Regions from separate parts of the Homo sapiens genome. Here region 2 is linked to region 1. Evidence: promoter capture Hi-C in human tissues and cell types (Jung and others, 2019). All regions are on one chromosome and are shown on one strand. The core of a region is centred on a gene start or on the middle of the fragment in contact, and the rest is flanking DNA. Distances in the headings are between cores, read along the strand shown.

Region 1 (2,700 bases), core at 164-2,663:
TGTCCAGCTCAACAGCAGACACCAGGAAATGGTCAAAGTGCAGGAGCAATTCAGGACGCGACTATCAGCTTTCAGGTGGGACCTGAGCCTGGCTGGCACTGGGGGGCGTGTCCATCAGCAGCTGGGCTTCTGACCTGAGCGGAGGCCTCAGCAGGCTGGGCGGGAGCACACGGGGCGTCAGAGGAGGGACACGCAGGAGGCTGGGCGGCAGCAGCTGGGTTGGCAGGAGGAGGTGGGAGCACAGCAGGAAGGGACGGGCACGCAGCAGGCGGGCCTGCACACGGGGCGGCAGAGGAGGGACACGGAGGAGGAGGGTCTGCAGCAGGAGGTGGTGCAGCAAGCTGGCTGGCAGCTAGATTGCTGGCAGCATGAAGAGGAAGCCCCAGAGCAAACAGGCACACAGCTCACAGGCTTGCAGCAGACGGGCACGCAGCAGCCCTGCTGGCTTTGGGAGGAGGTGCAGCAAGCTGGCTGGCAGCTAGACTGCTGGCAGCACAGAGAGGAAGCCCCAGAGCAGATGGGCACAGAGCAGACAGGCTTGCAGCACACAGGCTTGCAGCAGACAGGCACACAGCAAGCCTGCTGGCAGGGAGAGGAGGTGCAGCAAGCCGGCTGGCAGCTAGACTGCTGGCAGCATGAAGAGGAATCCTCAGAGCACACAGGCTTGCAGCAGACAGTCTTGCAGCAGACGGGCACGCAGCAGGCCTGCTGGCAGGAGGAGGAGGTGCAGCAAGCCGGCTGGCAGCTAGACTGCTGGCAGCACGAGGGCGTGCAGGAGCTGATGCAGCCTGATTGGCAGGGGCTGGGCTCACAGACCGCCTGGCAGCAGGGGCTGGACACACAGCTCACACAGCTAGACTGCTGGCAGCACGAAGAGGAAATCCCAGAGCAGACAGGCTTGCAGCAGATGGGCACACAGCAGGCCTGCTGGCAGGGGGAGGAGGTGCAGCAAGCTGACTGGCAGCTAGACTGCTGGCAGCATGAAGAATCCCCACAGCAGACGGGCACACAGCACACAGGCTTGCAGCAGACAGTCTTGCAGCAGACGGGCACGCAGCAGGCCTGCTGGCAGGGGGAGGAGGCACAGCAAGCCAGCTGGCAGCTAGACTGCTGGCAGCACGAGGGCGTGCAGGAGCTGGTGCAGCCTGATTGGCAGGGGCTGGGCTCACAGGTCACTGGGCAGCAGGGGCTGGACACACGGCTCACTGGGGTGCAGACCAGGCTCAGGCAGGGGGCCGGGGCGCAGCAGCTGGGGGCGCAGCAGGGGGGCTCGCAGCAGCTCTCTGGGCAGTCGTCCACCTGCCAGGAGTCGGAGCAAGAGTCACAGGAACCAGGAAGGCAGACGCGGCTGCTGTAGCTCAGGTCGCTGGAGCAGACGGACATGGTGGATGCTGCTGTGCTGGGGGTTGAGCTGGGGGAGATGGGAGGGAGTGGGTGAGCGAGTGAGTGAGGTGCTCGGGTTTGTGGGGCTTTTATACTCCTCCTTGGTGCATGTTGTCCAGACAGGAGGCTCAGCAAGCCCTCCCTTCCTTGTTGGGGTGTACAGCCAGCTCCAGGAGAATAAACAGTAGCTGTGTTTTTGTTTCCCAAGAGCTGTTGCTCAGTTTACAAAACTTGGAATTGGCCTGGGGCGCATGTGCGTGTTTTAGACTCAGGAGGAAGAGCTGAGGGGCAGTTCAGGCTGTGCTGCTTTGCTCCCCAGGCGCACGTGGAGGGTGGCATGGTCCACGTGTGTGCCGGGCTATGGGGAGTGGGTGCCTGCGGGTGGCTCTGCCGTGTGTGTGCTGGACTATGAGGAGTGGGTGCCTGTGGGTGGCTCTGCCGTGTGTGTGTGCCAGGCTATGGGGAGTGGGTGCCTACGGGTGGCTCCGCTGGGCCTTGGTTTTCTAGGCTGCTGAACAAGATCATGTGCCTCTGTGATTGAAAGCTTAGGGAGAGAGGTTTGTTTGGGTTCTAAGTAAAGATAATGTGAGTCATGGTTTGTATGCTGTAATGTATTCTTTTCCTTGGGCTGCCATGACAAACAGTACCACAAACTGGCTGGTCACACAACAGAAATTCCGTGTCTCATGGTTTTGGAAGCCAGAAGTCTGAGATCGAGGTGTGGACAGTGGACAGCATGGGTTCCTTCTGAGGCTGCGAGGGGCACTGTCTCACCCCGCTCCCCTCACTCCTGTGGGCTGCTGCTATCTTTGGGGTCCTTGGCTTACAGTGGCCTCACCTGAGCTCTGCCTTTATCTTCACACAGCTTCTCCGTGTGTGTGTGTGTGTGTGTGTGTGTGTGTGTGTGTGTGTGTGTGTGTGTGTCCAAATCTCCCCTTTTTATAAGGATACAAAGCATTATTGCAGTAGGGCCTATCCTAACAGCCTCCTCTTAACTTGATCACCTACAAAGACCCTATTTCCATATAGGGTCACATTCACATGTACCAGCGGTCAGGACTTCGGCACCTTTTGAGGGACACAATTCAATCCACAGCAAGCAGACACAATGGCAGAACCTGGGATGAGGACGTGGGCACGGGAGCAGAACCCGGGATGGGAAGGCAAGCACGGCAGAAGTGTTTCTTGTGGACTTGGGCCTGGGGCAGGTGGAGCATGGGGGGTGGCGAGGGTAGCACAGGACAGCAGGTGCCCAGCACTGGGCACTCAGCAGCCTTTGCTTGTGAGGTGTGGCTTGACCTCGTGGAATGGTTTTAG
Region 2 (2,700 bases), core at 114-2,613, 1.1 Mb before region 1:
CACTGTGAAAATTACATTAAGTGTCTGGATTTTGTCGTTATTTTTTAAAAGAATAGTAGACTGTCTTCTTTCATGCAGATAATTTACTTGTGGATCAGCTTTTTTAAGCTTTGTTAGGTTGGATGTACAGTATCTTTTACTCTACAGCTAATTTAGACCTACTCTTGAGGTATACCTTTCCGTTACCTCTACTGATTGCCTTGGTGGTTCAGGAGGGATGCTCCATTCTGGATGGCCAAAACTCTAATTGTCTCCCGAACCTCTGTTGAGCAATGTGAATTGTTCATCTTAGGCCAGGCACGGTGGTTCACACCTGTAATCCCAGCACTTTGGGAGGCCAAGGCAGGCGAATCACTTGAGGTCTGGAGTTTGAGACCAGCCTGGCCAATATGGTGAAACCCTGTCTCTACTAAAAACACAAAAATTAGCCAAGGTGGTAGCAGATGCCTGTAATCCCAGCTACTCAGGAGGCTGAGGCAGGAGAATCACTTGAACCCAGGAGGCAGAGGTTGTGGTGAGCCAAGATTGTGCCACTGCACTACAGCCTGAGCGACAGAGTAAGACTCCATCTCAAAAAAAAAAAAAAAAAAAAAGTTCATCTTACAGGCTTTTTGTTTTGTTTTGTTTTGTTTTTGTTTCTTGTCTTGCCTCATGGAGTCTCATGTGTTGGTTATTGGTTAGTGTTTGGCAACAGACTGAAGGAATCCCCAGTGCAGATTTTTGGGGCTGATTTTACTTCTCTTCAGAGTCTTTCCATGTATCTCCTCTTCACAATCTCCAACTAACTAAGCCTGCCTGAGCTTTTATGTTTCACCAACTCAGTTATGCTGTAAGGCTCTGCTTATATTCCCCCTCATTGCCATGCAGTTTGAAAAGTACTTTTACTAAGAAAGTTGGGAATTACAGGGTTTATCTTTATCAGTCTTGTGCAGCCTGTTGTCCAGTGTCTGAAGTAAGTTGTTTTATATATTTTTCCAGTTTTCTGGTTGTTCACAACAGAAGGATAAGTCCTATCCTGGTTACTCCACCATGGGCAGAGGCAAAGGTCTCCTTCCTTTTTGTATTTCTTATTTTTATTTTTTTTAGTGGTGGTAAAATACACATAAAATTCACCATCTTAACCATTTTCAAGTGTACAGTTAAGTGGCATTAAATACATTCACACTTTTGTGCAACTATCACCACCATCTATCTCCACAACTGTTTTCATCTTGCAAAACTGAAACTCTGTATCCATTAAACAATAATTCCCCATTTTTCCCTTCCCCACAACCTTTAAAACCCATTCCCCATGTTATTTTCTGTCTCTGAATTTGACTACTCTTGGTATCTCACTTAAGTGGAATCATATATTATTTGTCCTTTTATGACTGGCTTATTTCACCTCTCTTTGTTTTTAAAGGAAGTGTAACATTTGGTCTTTGCATCTAATGTTAGGATGATGGTTTGTAATACTCAAAATGTTCAAGCCAACAAGCTGATATGGTAGACAGTCACAGGGATATACATTGATGGTTTTCTGTAGCAGAGTGGCAGGGGGCAGGGTGTGGGGAAGATAGACTTCTGTGTGTTTTATTCCATAGCTTAACATTTATCAAACCTCATGTAAATCACTATAAACACTAAGAATGGAAAATTAAACTGTAGCATTGCCCATTCATATTTCTCTGGTTTAACAGACATTTTATGAGCACTGTGTTAGTCTGTTTTGCGTTGCTATAAAGGAATATCTGAGACTGGGCAATTTATGAAGATTATGAAGAAAAGAGGTGTTTTGGCTCATGGCTCTGCGGGCTGTACAATCATGGCACCAGCATCTGCTTGGCCTCTGCTGAGGCCTCAGGAAGCTTTTACTCATGGTGGAAGGTGAAAGAGGAACAGGCATGTCACATAAACAGAAAGAAAGCAAGGAGCAGGGAAGTTCCATGCTCTTCTTTAAACAGTTATCATGTGAATTAACAGAGTAAGAACTCTCTCATTACTGCAGGGAGGACACCAAGCCATTGATGAGGGATCTTCCCCCATGATCCAAACACCTCCCACTAGGCCCCACCTCCAACACTGGGGATCACATTTCAATATGAGATTTGGAAAGGACAAATATCCACACTATATCAAGCAGTAAAATCAGTAATTCTCTATCTCTCTTATGAGTTAATCTCAGGTCCTTCCTTACCAATGGCACCATCAGAACCGCATAAATTTCATACTTAATACCCTCTTGATTTAACATATACTTCCACAGGACCTTATTACTTTTTTGTTTGTTTGCTTTTGTTTTTAGAGACAGGGTCTCACTGTCACCCAGGCTAGAGTGAAGTGGTGTGATCATAGCTCATGGCTGCCTTGAACTTCTGAGCTTAAGTGATCCTTCTGCCTCAACCTCCAGAGAAGCTGGGACTACAGGCATGTGCCACCACACCCGGCAATTTTTTTTTTTTTTTTTTTTTTTTGTAGAGATGGGTTCTATGTTGACCAGGCTGGTCTCAAGCAATCCTCCTGTCATGGCCTCCCAAAGCACTGAGATTACAGGTATGAGCCACCATGCCCAGCAACACCTTATTTTTTATTTTTATTTTTTTTTTGAGATGGAGTCTCGCTGTCGCCCAGGCTGGAGTGCAGTGGCACGATCTCGGCTCACTGCAAGCTCTGCCTCCCGGGTTCATGCCATTCTCCTGCCTCAGCCTCCCGAGTAGCTGG

Evidence for each region. Contacts are between HindIII fragments. The study calls those that stand out against the background at their distance.
Region 2: a fragment that was not itself captured here is called in contact with the fragment with the promoter of KRTAP10-4 in region 1 in 1 of the 25 tissues and cell types used here (lymphoblastoid cells).

The regions. Positions count from the first base shown.
Region 1 is chr21:44,572,442-44,575,141 of GRCh38, reverse strand. It overlaps KRTAP10-4 (keratin associated protein 10-4), which reads right to left and starts at 1,413. Exons shown (of 1, transcript NM_198687.2): 1 at 1-1,413. The coding sequence starts at 1,383. The coding sequence ends at 178. All of the region lies in intron 1 of TSPEAR (thrombospondin type laminin G domain and EAR repeats), which reads left to right. RefSeq lists enhancers at 162-680, 681-1,198. The HindIII fragment of the contact is 6,773 bases long and covers 1-2,700 here.
Region 2 is chr21:45,683,809-45,686,508 of GRCh38, reverse strand. The region is part of intron 2 of PCBP3 (poly(rC) binding protein 3); the gene reads right to left. Among named protein-coding and RNA genes, the nearest start is that of PCBP3, 41 kb to the right of the region's middle. The HindIII fragment of the contact is 5,038 bases long and covers 1-2,700 here.